Linked DNA regions of Homo sapiens: region 1 is linked to region 2. Evidence: promoter capture Hi-C in 16 types of primary human blood cells and fetal thymus (Javierre and others, 2016). All regions are on one chromosome and are shown on one strand. Each heading gives the region's core, a stretch centred on a gene start or on the middle of the fragment in contact. The rest is flanking DNA. Distances are from core to core; before and after follow the strand shown. Region 1 has its middle 9.4 kb from the start of SECISBP2L. Region 2 holds the start of SQOR (sulfide quinone oxidoreductase).

Region 1 (6,723 bases), core at 2,020-4,519, 3.4 Mb after region 2:
CATGATCCAATCATACTTATAGAAAGTGAGGTACAGAAAATGGAAGCGGGGTACAGAAACAGCTGGATTGGTTACAGCTTGGTACTTGTCTTATTTGAATACAGTTTGAACAGTTGCCCACCTATGATTGGCTGAAACTGCGTGATTAGTACAAGAGTAAGTTAAAGTCTGTTTACACATCCAGTTAGGTGACAGTTTACTATATGTGTAAGGAGGCAGCTTTAACTTAATTTAACAGTTCACCCTTTTGGTGACCCTCTCAGTATAGACAAAACTGATCTGTTTTGGGATCGATCTGCTTCCATAATGTTTCACTTTAATTACGTAGCATTTAGCATGAGTGACTCCATGTTGGTTTGGTCTGGTCTGTTGGGGCCTACTGCAGGAGCTCTGTCTAGAACACTGGTTTCCCATAATTTTGACTAATAATTTCCCCCTTTCGCTCAAGTTCTCACCTAAGTGAGTGTAACCAAAATTTAGGGTTTAGCACTACTCCCAGTTGCCATCATTTTGGATTTCTAGTCACAGCACATCATTCATAGGTTACAGCGTCTTCATGATCACTCATTTCTTTGAGGTTTTTGTCATACCAACAAAAGGGAGATCATTTGACATTCTACAGATGGCTATATGCAAGCATTTATAATTTTGGAGAAAATACAGTGCACCAGGGATACTACTCTTATGGTTATCAGAAGGATAATACCAAGAGTTGGGAGTATGCTCCCTGGCCAGGGTCCTCATGAACTAAGCCAACTAAAATCAAATAGATCTACGAATGAGCCTGATAAAGAATCTTGTTTTAACCAACCAGCCTGTTTGTTAATCCCGTGAAAGTGAGTCTTTATAAAACCTGATGTATTCATACAACAAGAAGTGTCAGGAACTGCACAGATCCTTCCCTGTTCAGTCAAAAATAATCTAGAGTAATTCAGTCATCTAGCACAACTTTAGCAAGAAAATTTTTAAAAGTTTGTTGTGCAACCATAGCCTTTGCAGTAAAATCTTCTATAAAGTCTACTACAAGGAACACATTTCTAATCATTGTCTGATTTATATTTCCCGCATGCCACAGAAAAGAAGACCTAACAATGATGCCCATCCAGAAAGGTGAAGTCCTCCTGGCAATGTTCTCTTTAACCTATGATGTATGCTAAGAGTGGACCAAGGTTGTTTTTGACTGTTAGTGGAGCAACAAAGGTACCTTTAAAATTCCTAGTCCAGCTGGCCACGGTGGCTCATGCCTGTAATCCCAGCACCTGGGGAGGCCAAGGCATGAGGATCACTTGAGCCAAGTAGTTGAAGATCAACCTGGGCAACATAGTGAGACCTCACCTCTACAAAAAAATAAATAAATGAAAAAAATTTAAAAAAAATAGCCAGGTGTACTTATGCGTGCCTGTAGTCCCAGGTACTCAGGAGGCTGAGGTGGGAAGATTGCTTGAGCCTGGGAGGTCAAGGCTGCAGTAAGCTATGATTACATCACTCCACTCCAGCATGGATGACAGACTGAGACCCTGTCTCTAAAAAAAAAAAAATCCCTAGCCACAGTGGCCCCTCATCTTCCATTTTTTAAGGCAGGCGTTCCCAATCCCCGGACCATGAACTTGTACCAGCTAGGGGCCTGTTAGAAACTGGGTCGCACAGCAGGAAGTGAGCAGTGGGTGAGCAGGCATTACTGCCTGAGCTCCGCCTCCTATCAGGTCAGTGGCAGCATTAGATTCTCACAGGAATGAGAACTGCACTGTGAACTGTGCATGCGAAGGATCTAGGTTGCACACTCCTTATGAGAACTGAATGCCCAATAATCTGGGGTGGAGCAGTTTCATTCCAAAACCATCACCACTACCACCCAACACCCCCAGTCCATGGAAAAATTGTCTTCCACAAAACCAGTCCCTGGTGCCAAAAAGGTTGGGGACCACTGCATTAAAGCATAAGGTTTCCCCTGTATAGGGTTAGCTGTAAAATCCTCCACACATAAAAGTATACCCTATGGGTACACCCAAAGCACCTTTTCCAGTTCTATTGTTCATAGAGGCATAAGCAAGAAGATGTAAGCGTCACAGGATGGCAGGTCCTTGATCCATGATCTTGAGAAACTTGTTCATGTCTAGGATTCTGTCTGCTTCCAGGGAGAAAATTCCCAGTTAACTTTACCTTAAGGTCTCCAATAGGTATACAGTAGCAGTCCCCAACCTTTTTGGCACCAGGGACTGGTTTTGTGGAAGACAATTTTTCCATGAACCTGGGGGTGGGGGATGATTTTGGGATAATTCAAGTGCATTACATTTATTGTGTACTTTATTTCTGTTATTATTACATTGTAATATATAATGAAATAATTACACAACTCACCATAACATAGAATCAGTGGGAGCCTTGAGCTTGTTTTCCTGCAACTAAACCAGGGGTCCCCAACCCCAGGCTGTGGACAGGTACAGTCTGTGGTCTGTTAGGAACCAGGCTGCACAGCAGGAGGTGAGCAGCAGACATGCAAGCTCAGATTAGTAACAGCATTAGATTCTCATAGCAGAGCGAACCTTATTGTGAACTGCCCACGGGAGGGATCTAGGTTGTACGCTCCTTATGACAATCTAATGCCTGGTGATCTGAGGTGGAACAGTTTCATCTCAAAACCATCTGCCCCTTCCTCTCCTCCCCATCCATGGAAAAATTGTCTTCCATGAAACGAGTCCCTGATGCCCAAAAGGTTGGGGACCATTGAACTAGACAGTTCCATCTGGGGATGATGGGAGACAGTAACAGATCATCAGGCATTAGATTCTCATAAGGAGCGTGCAACCTAGATCCCTTGTGTGCACAGTTCACAATAGGGTTCACGCTCCTATGAGAATCTAATGCTGCTGCTGATCTGACAGGAGGTGGAGCTCAAGTGGTAATGCCAGAGATGGGGAGCAGCTGTAAATACAGATGAAGCTTCACTTGCTTGCCCACTGCTCACCTCCTGCTGTACAGCCTGGTTCCTAACAGCCCATGGACAAGTACCTGTTAGGGGGACCCTGGTATACAGTCCTGAGTCTGAAAGGGCTGTTTAGAGTTATGAGACTATGGATACAAGGTTTGCGGTCCCAAAGTTTTGCTGCAGTGTGTGTGGCAAGGGCAGTCTTTCTCTTCACTTCCAGAAGACCCAATATCTTGGTTCTATATCATCAATGTTTTAATTATCCTGAGTCAATGGGTCATTAAAATTTCCTTTGCCTGACTAAAATACACTTTGGCATAATGCATTAAAGCCTTGCGGCAATTAGTCATATCAGAGTACAGGAATGGAAGAGATATAATGTTCTATTATTAGGAGGATAGGCCTTCCAGTGACTGTTTCATAAGGGGTCAACTTATGTTTTCCTCTGGAAGTGGATCTGATTGCCATCAATCTTCAATACTTTGGATCAAGGCAATCCAGTCGATTCATTTAGCTTTGCCTAATGCTATAATACTTTATTTAACTTTTCTACAACCTGTCCAGTGAAACAAGTACCTCCATCACTGGAGATTTCTTCAGAATTCCCCATGAGGGAAACACATTTTAAAATAACCTTTTAGCTACTGTTATAGCATTGGCCTTCTTGCATGGGAAAGCTTCTATACAATCAGAAAATGTGCGTAGAATGGCAAGTGAATGAAATGCCCTCATAAATGTTCAAAAGGCTCATCATGTAGCAGAAATGTACCCCAAATTTTGATATTTTCCCTTAATTATGGATTTGACAAACTAAACATTGATCATAAGCCATTTTAGCAGTTTAGAATAGTCACCACACACACACACACACACACACACACACACACACACATAATTTAAATCATTTTACCTCTTTCCTAATAAGTCATAGGGTATACAGCTTTTAATAATGGAAGCTATAAGGACTCAGGAAGGGCCAGGCAGCCATCCAGGCTCTCCATGAGTCCACACTTAACATTGGATTTTTATCATTCTTAAATAGCGATTTTGTTGCACAGCACTGTTTGTTAAATCTGTTATCATAGGTAATTTGCCTTGGGCCATGGAGTTCATTTAAGTTGAATTTCTTAACAATTTCAGTACTGGCTCATTTTGCATAACATTTGGCAAAATTTTTTCTTGATATTCAATCAATTCTTGTCCTGCTTGGTTTAGCAGTTTTATGAATCAGTCAGTCTCTTCATGAGAGTTCTAGGAATTCCTACCCAGTCCAAATTATATGATCCTAAAGTTATCAGAACCGTGTATTCAAGAGTGCTTCTCAGGGTCCTTTCCATCCTTTCCATGAGCCTCCTTGAAGGCACAATACTCTAGGATTTTAGTTGCTTATAAATAGCTTTCAGAAAATGCACCAGAATTAAGCAATTAACTGGAAGCAAGACTTAAAATGGTCACGGTTAAAGACACAATTGACAAGGAAATTTGGTTATTTCTGTGACCTACAATAATTAAACATACTAACTATAACTATGACTGATAACATATACCAAGACATATCAGAATTTTAGGAGTCTCATACAATTTTAGAACATATATTAATAACATATCCTTAAAAATATAACATGAGAAGGTTAAACATCATTTCTTATTTGGCAGTAGTCAAACTTCAGAAGCTTAAATAATGCAGGAACAATTTCTTAGCATTACTAGTGTTCCTACAGTCATGATACTGCACATTGCAATTTTAAATATTAAAGTCCACTATTAACCAAAGTCAGATGAGGAACAAGATTATTTTTGGCTAGCTCTGCTAGTATAGGATACTTCTGATAGTGATGTCATCATCTGTTATTAAGCTTCCCTTCCTTTCTAATAGAAACTAAGTTTTATCCGCTTTTCTGCTGCTGGACTTGAAGATTTGGTCAATGGACATGATTCCATTTCATTGAAGCCCCCTAGAAACTGAAGTTTGTGCTGTGCTTGAAGAAGATGCTTTGTGGATATTTTCAGATGCACACCTAAGATTGTTATTCTCATTTAAAATTTTAATTTCTAATATGCGTTTATTTCTGCATGCCTTTTATTATTAATTACATTGTATGAATATTAGTGGTTCAAAAGGATGTAATTTTCTTTCTAAATTTATGTAGCCCATCTTTTGTATAATTGTATTAATTTTCAATTATTTTCTTACCTAACTACTTGAAAGTTCTACATTTTTGCATAAAATTAACAATTTTCACAATTACCTTTATTACTGAAGTTTATATTAAACAATTAATAGAATTTCAACAGAGGAAATACATCCAAAATGCTTACCTATATTTGAAAGTGCATATCCATATATTAACACTAACTCTGACTAACATACTTTGCTCTTATAATTTACATAGTTATGCTGATTAGATATAATGGTTACCCAGTAAGATCACATGATGGGGAGGCCATACCCAGTTTAGACTTGCCAGAAGGTGAAATAGAAATTTGACAATATGACCTTCCAAAGGCCAATGCTAAAGGTGAAATTGAAAAGCAAATTTTGGCCAATGCTGAGGCCAGGGCACAGCTGAACTGGAGTATGTATCTCTCATTATTTGCAGGAAAGTAACATGATCTAATGGCAAGAGGGTGGTTAGGGTGACAGAACAGACCATGGAATCAAACCTGAGTAAAGATAGTATGAATCAAAATTACTAGAGATAATATCTTTATGTTTTCAGCATATAAGATGAATCCACCAAAATTCCTAAAAACTAGTGGCAAACTCATAAGAAAAAAGATTCCATTGATAATATAAGTGTTATGATGGAAAGAGCACTACTAGACTAAGACTTGATAACTTGGGTTTAAATTTTATCTATACCCATTTCAGGCCATGTGCCCTCAAAAGTCGCTTAAGCTTCCCTGGGCCTCAGTTTCCTCATCTGCACAATGCATGGGATTGTTGAGGGGTTCGAGTTGAGGTAACGAATGCAAGAACACATTGCAAGCCCTAGAGGAGTGGTTCTCAATCTGTGGCACTCTTAAAGCTAGAATATTCAGTCCCCTCTTAGACCGATTAAGTCAGAATCTCTGGAGCAGATAATCTCCCAATCAGCCATAGTCAGCCATAAAATTTTAAGTCAGATCATGTCACTCCTCTCTTCCAAGGAGCTCCAGTGGAGCTTCCCATCTCAGAGTAAAAGCCCAAGTCCTTAGAGGGGCCATTGAAGTCCCTATGATCAAGCCCCTACCATGCCTCTGGCCTTAATTCCTATTCCTCACTCACTTGCTATTCACTTGCTCACTCCTTGCTGTTCCCTTGTCATTCTAAGCACACTCTCATCTTGAGATCCCTTGGCCTTGCTGCTTCCACTGGCAGGAACTCCCTACCCCCAGTTAACCCACATGGCTCAAGCCCTCACTTCAGGCCTTTTCTTAAATGTGACCTTGGAGTGAGGCCTTTTCTGACCACCTTCTTTAAAGCAGGATGCAATACAGAGCGATCTAATGGACTATGGAGACTCAGAAGGAGGAAGGTAGAAGAGGGGGTGAGGGATTTAAAAAACTACATATTGGGTATAATGTACACTACTTGGGTGATGCGTGCACTAAAATCTCAGGCTTCACCACTGTATAATTCATCCACGTAACCAAAAACCACTTGTACCCCTCAAAGCTATTGAAATTTTTAAAAAAGAAAAAAAGAAAAAAAAAACAGCATGCAAACACACACACTGCCTCTCCTTTCCAGCTTTTTCTCCGTAGCACTTATCATCATCTAAAATGCTGTATGTCTGTTTTGTTTATTGACTGTC
Region 2 (6,692 bases), core at 1-2,500:
TACAGTCTGCGTTTGTATTGTATTGTTCATGATGATTTTGCCATAGATACAGTCAGTCTCTTTGATTAAAGATAGAAAGTATCAGTTGAAAACATTTAAAAAAATAATATTCAAGGCTGGGCATGGTGGCTCACGCCTGTAATCCCAGCACTTTGGGAGGCCCAGGAGGGCAGATCGCTTGAGGCCAGGAGTTTGAGACCAGCTTGGCCAACATGGTGAAACCTCATCTCTACTGAAACATACAAAAATTAGCCGGGCATGGTGGCACACACCTGTAGTCCCAGCTACTCAGGAGGCTGAGACACCAGAATTGGTTGAACCCATGAGGCAGATGTTGCAGTGAGCCGAGATTGCTCTACTCACTGCGCTCCAGCCTGGGCAACACAGTGAGACTCTGTTTCAAAAAACAACAACAACAACTATATATATATATATATATATATATATTCAAAATTCATAAAACCAAATAAGTGTAAAAGAAACTCAAACTTTCAAGGGTTTATTTTTGTTTGTTTTTTTGAAAGCTTCTAGCACTTGCACTTCTCAGGTTATGAGACTTTTGGGACACCCTGTATTTATTGTAAAAAGGGTTACTGAATCTGATATGGTGGAGAACCACTCACTGAGACTTTACATCAACCTGGAAAGAGCCGCCAACTGAAAATGTCCAGTCATGAATATGGGATGGGACACTGTGGAGGCCAGTGGCTGGAAGCCAGCTTACCCCTGCCTGCGCGTTTTGAAGGAAGGGCTCCAGCGCACACCAAAGCTGAACCTCGGTCACCTTCTCTGTGAAATGAGCGCGGGAATACCTGTGTTTCTGGGCAGCTGTGTGAACCCGGTGAGAAGCCCAGGGCACATAGGAGGACCCAGTGGGAACAGCCAGAGCCTCTCTGCACAGCGCCCCGCCTCCGCTTTTGCCTGCCCTGATTACAAAACGCTGTTGGCACCCAGGGGCGGAAGCGTCAGGTGGCCTCGGTGTCCTCCGCCTGTGCGCCCCAGCCTGCGGGGCCGCCCTTCAGGGCGCGCAAGGGGCGAGTCTGTCCAGCCGGCAGCACCCCAGGCCGGATGGACGCTTGTTCCTGGTTCTGTGCCCCGTGAGCGCTCAACGCCCTGGTGTGTTCACTGACCATGGTGCCTGGGCTGCGGCGCCGGGCGGGGCACGGCGGGACTTTTCGGGACCTTTCCTGGGGGGAGCCTCGCTTTCCCCGCCTCCAGCCTCCGCCCGGATGGCAGGCGGGCGGGGCCCCAGTCCAGGCCTTGAGACCCAGAAGGGAGCGAAGGTTTTTGCTGCGCCAACGCAGTGACCGAAGGCTCCGCTCACGCCCGGGTAAGAGGCATCCGCGGCCGATCTTTGGCCCTGGGCCAGCGGAGGGAGACTGGGCGGGGACAGCGACCACCACTGAGGCTGTTTGTTAGCTTAACTCGGTTTCCGCAGCTGGGACTCCGCAGACCCGGTGCGCCGCGCCCCAAACTTTGCTTCCTCAACTCCGGACACCTGCAGCTCTTGCTGCCCTTGTCTGGAACCCGGGTCTTGGGACTCTTGCTTCCTTCTCAGAGTGTCAGAGCCTCAGGGCCGCGGAGAGGCCAACCCGCGAGGGGTGCTTAAAAACCGAAGTATCCGTGGTCTTGGTGTGTGGACGTTTCTGGCGCCTTCCACCTGTTGACTGTCACTCGGCACCGTCCTGGAGCGGGAGTGGGTGCTCGGCGTCCGGGGGCCAGGGATTGACACAGTCATCCACCGACACTGCGCGTGGGACAGAGGGGGCGCTCGAGGGGTCGGCTGCAGCTGAAACCTGAAGGGGAGAGGATTTAGGGCACCTGCTGAACAGGAATTGGTGGAAAGGGAGAAGGGGTCTTCTGGTGGAATCTGGGCTCATTTCCTTTCCTCTTCATCTGTCTCTTTTATTTATCAAAATTCCAACCTGGCTTTTTGCTCAAAGACGCTGAACAGAGCCCCTGGCTTTGCCTGCGCTGCCCATTGCTATAATGCAGGGCTCTGTTCCATTTTTGTGCTGTGCACCCCTTTGGCATTTCTGGGAAGGCTAAAGACTCTCAGAACAATACTTTTTTTTGAGACAGAGTCTTGCTCTGTCGCCCAAGCTGGAGTGCAGTGGCGCGATCTCGGCTCACTGCCACCTCCACCTCCCGGGTTCAAGCGATTCTCCTGCCTCAGCCTGCCGAGTAACTGGGATTACAGGCGCAGCACACCTGGCTAATTTTAGTATTTGTAGTAGAGGCGGGTTTCACCATGTTGCCCAGCTGGTCTCGAACTCCTGGCCTCAAATGATCCGCACACTTCGGCCTTCCAAAGTGCTGGGATTACACGAGTGAGCCACCGCGCTGGACCAGAACAATGCTTTTTTAAAGGTATAAAACAAAAGGAAGAGTATTATAAAGGAAACCAATTGCAAAACACATGTCAAAACATTAAAAGAATTTATGATATGGTAATATATATGTCTTTAAAAAACGAATGCGTTATTTAATAACAAGGTTATTAAATAACAAGATCTAGCAGTGGATTAAATAGTTACCATAATTTTGAAGTAGTAAAGAACATAAACAATTATTTCAAGATATAGGTAATACTTGTAATATAAGAAAATATCTGTAATTTCTTTCTTCTTTTTTTTTTTTTTTTGAGACGGAGTCTCACTCTGTCACCAGGCTGGAGTGCAGTGGCGCGATCTCGGTTCAATGCAACCTCCGCCTGCTGGGTTCAAGTGATTCTCCTGCCTCAGCCTCCCGAGTAGATGGGACTACAGGTGTGTGCCACCACACCCAGCTAATTTTTGTATTTTTAGTAGAGACAGGATTTCACCATATTGTCCAGGATGGTCTCGATCTCTTGACCTTGTGATACGCCCACCTTGGACTCCCAAAGTTCTGGGATTACAGGCATGAGCCACTGCGCACGGCCAATATCTGTGATTTCTATTGGTGACAAAGTCTTAGTATTGCCAATACTGCTGTGGTTTGTTGGCTACATACATAATTGAAGTAAATGTTAAATTTCAGTTAGATACTAGAGAAATAAAAGATGTAAATATTAAATATCCGTAAAAATAAAGATGTAAAATACTTTTCCATCTAAGTTTTTGGGTCCAGGTTAAGATCCTCTGATAGTAGAAAGGGCACTGACCCAATGACTTGGCTTCTGGGCTTGACACTTCCATTGACATTTCCAAGGCCCATTGTAACCTTGGCTTTTTTTTTTTTTTGAGACATGGTCTTGCTGTGTCGCCTAAGCTGGAGTACAGTGAGGTGATCTCTGCTCACTGCAACCTCCTCGCAGGTTCGAGTGATTCGCCTGCCTCAGCATCCCTAGTAGCTGGGATTACACCAGCCACCCACCACCACACCTGGCTAATTTTTGTATTTTTTGGTAGAGACAGGGTTTCACCATATTGGCTAGGCTGGTCTTGAACTGCTGACCTCAAGTGATCTGCCCTTGTCTGCTTCCCAAAGCAACCACCACACCCAGCTTAACTTTGGCTTTTGAATTTCTTTTCGCCTCAGCTTCTTCATTGTACAGTGGAGATAATAACACCTTCCCAAGTATTTAAGGCACCCAGCACTGCACTTAGTGTAGAGGGCTGAAGTAGATACCATTTATCAGAACTTATTTGTATCCCTCCCAAGCTTATGGCCTTATATCCCCAAGCCTGGGGAGGTACTCATTATTTATTGAATGAATAAGTGGGTCAGAAAGGGTTGCTTGTGACTAAGTCCAAAAAACAAAATTCATTAAGGAGACAGCTGGTGGTTTGGGAAATGACTTTGTTTAAATTTGGGGCTTTTTTTCTGGCTGGAAAAATATATAAACACATTTGGAACGGGGGTGTTTGAAATGTCAGTCAGGGCCCAGGGTCTGTGTGTGCGTGTCTGTGTGGCTGGTGTTCTGCCAGTGAAAATGAAACTGAATGTTGAAAGGAAACCGGATTCCTTTGCAGAACAGTTTCTCCTCCATGTTGCCTGTGTCTAGCTTTGTTAATCCGATGTGTTGTAACACAGGAAATGTCTTATAAAGAATGGAGACGGACCCATGACAAGGCATTTCTGGGCATAGATGTACTTTTTTCTTCTCCTTTCACGTTTCCCTGCTCCACTATCTACTATATAACTCCTCTTTGACTCTGAAGACTTGGTAAATAGGAGCAGTTTGGATAGCTTATGGAAAGCTGCCCAGACCTGGCTGGAAGCCAACTAGTTGCTTCTTAATCCCAGCCTTAAAAATCTTTGTAATCCCCAGATGTAGGTGGTAATAATAATAAAGAAAAGTAGATCTAGCCAACCATCCCTGTGATTTACATTGAGAAAGTGCTAAATTGGGACAGGAGGTAGAGAACTTTGTGGAAAAAAACAAAACAGAACAAAAAAACCCTCGGAAATTTAGAACACACTGGGACTATCTATGTCTGTAACTTTGGGAAGGGCAAATACTGGTGTTATGGACTCACCAAATTCATATATTGAAACCCTAGCCCCCAGGATCTTAGAATGTGACTGTATTAGGAGATAGTGCCTTAGTTAGAAGTGGTGGTGAGCACCTGTAGCCCCAGCTACTTGGGAGGCTGAGGTGGGAGAACTGCTTGAGCTCAGAAGTTCGAGGCTAGCCTGAGCAACATAGCAAGACCTTGTCTCAATAAAAGAATAATTAGCCAGGCACGGTGGCTCACGCCTGTAATCCCAGCACTTTGGGAGGCCGAGGTAAGCAGATCGCTTGAGGCTGGGAGTTTGAGGCCAGCCTGGCCAACATAGAGGAACCCCGTCTCTACTAAAAATTCAAAATATTAGCTGGGTGGGGTAGTGTGCACCTGTAATTCCAACTACTCAGGGGGCTGAGGCATGAGACTTGCTTGAACCGGAGAGGAGGAAGTTGCATTGAGCCAAGATTATCATGCCACTGCATTCTAGCCTGCGCAACAGAGCAAGACTCTGTCTCAAAAAAAGAAAGAAAGAAAAAAAAAAAAGGAAAATTAAGTTAGGTCATTAAGGTGGAGCCCTAATCCAATATGAATAGTATCCTTATAAGAAGATGACTCGTCAGGAGCACATGTGCACAGAGAAAAGGCCACGCAAAGGCACACTGAGAAGGTGGCCATCTGCAAACCAGGGAGAGAGATCCCAGGAGAAACCAGTCTCATCAGCACTGAGGTCTTGGACTTTCAATCTCCAGAACTTTGAGAAAATAAATTTCTGTTCTCTAGACTTCATCTAGTCTATAGTGTTTTGTTATGGCAGCCCTAGAAAATTAATACAACTGGTTCTACCAAATGGACAATAGGTTTAAAAAAAATGGCTACAACTAGGCACCATCTCTTTTAAGTCATGATCCCGACATGTCCATCACTTGCTCTTAGGATCTCTTACCCAACCTATGCAGAAGAGTCTCCCATGTACTTTCCTTCTACAGACACCCTGTGTGGTCCCTAGGATCTTGCCTGAAGTTGTTAAAGCCATATTCAGCTTCATGATTTTGACTGTTAGGAAAAGAAAAACTTGGCCTCTTCAGCAAGTGACCTAGGTTAGCTGTTGTGCCATGTACATAGTAAGTACTTTGTAAATGTATGGTGGGTGATGGGTGATGATGTTATGATCATCCTTAAATACCATGGGGTGACTCCCTTCTGATCATAATGAATCTCCATGTTTTGGCCCTAGCCCAGCCCTCAGGGAACTTTCATGCCACCTAGCTGGGAACCAGCAGCTCTGGCCCTAGCTACATGAATGGAGAGAAAATGGCTATGTCTGTATCCTGGTACCAATTCCTGACTTCTGGGAGGGAGGGCTGCTTCTGGAAGTGGGGATTGTGGTGATTTCACTCTATGATAACTTTCTTATATCTTTGGCTATTTGTTCTAAGGTAGCCCATGATGTCTCCATAGGAAAATGATGTGTTTTAACAACCACCATGTTTGGAGTATAGATTGTGAGAGCTCTTCAAGACAGTGCTGGGTCTAGTAAATGTGGTTTTGTGTTTCTGTGAGCACATAAATGATGCTTGAGATGGATGAGGGGCCATCTGAGTTTGGAGGAAAATCATGAGCCTTTCAAGGTCTAGGTGATCAAATCTAAGCTTGTTTTGAATCATTGAGTAAGAAAGGTCTTTAATGGCAACTAGACACCTCCACTTATTTTACACTCAGGGAAATGGACTCAAAATGGTAAATGACTATCTCATGGTCTTACAATCTCCATTTCCTCACTTATAAAATGGGAATAATAATTCCCACCTCTCTGGTTTTTGTGAGTAATTACGTAAAGTGCATAGCACAATGCCTGTCACATATCAACACTTCCACAAATGATTTGGGGACTTGCGGGGAGAGATTGAGAGGAATGGTTTCCATTCTAATTATGTTCCAGACCTGCTTATTAAAGCCTTGTTATTCTTTGCCACAAAAATTCACATCTCTGATCAATCTAAGGAGTTATTAGAACAAGCGTCCCCATTTGAAAGCCTGCTTGTGAACTTCCATTTTCCTTTTCTCATTTAGAGGATAGCAAAGTTTTAGAGAAGCAGGGGACCTTTGATGCCACCCAATCTGATCCTTTATTCCATTGATGAAGAAAGCATGGCCCAAAATGGGTCAGGAAGAGCTGTACCTAGCACTCCCTGGACTGTGGTCCTGGGTCTCTTGACTCTTGATATGCCCTCAGACAAAGCTTCACCAGGAACGGGTCAT

Evidence for each region. The method cuts DNA at HindIII sites, captures the fragments that hold promoters and counts their contacts. A CHiCAGO score of 5 or more calls a contact.
Region 1: a contact is called between a fragment that was not itself captured here and the fragment with the promoter of SQOR in region 2, in 1 of 17 cell types (M0 macrophages). The highest score is 6.1, in M0 macrophages.

The regions. Positions count from the first base shown.
Region 1 is chr15:49,052,532-49,059,254 of GRCh38, forward strand. No RefSeq gene overlaps it. Among named protein-coding and RNA genes, the nearest start is that of SECISBP2L, 9.4 kb to the left of the region's middle. The HindIII fragment of the contact is 663 bases long and covers 2,939-3,601 here.
Region 2 is chr15:45,633,779-45,640,470 of GRCh38, forward strand. It overlaps SQOR (sulfide quinone oxidoreductase), which reads left to right and starts at 1,251. Exons shown (of 10, transcript NM_021199.4): 1 at 1,251-1,330. RefSeq lists enhancers at 395-1,390, 1,853-1,942, 1,973-2,022, 3,852-3,931, 3,962-4,021 and a silencer at 1,203-1,372. The HindIII fragment of the contact is 3,121 bases long and covers 523-3,643 here.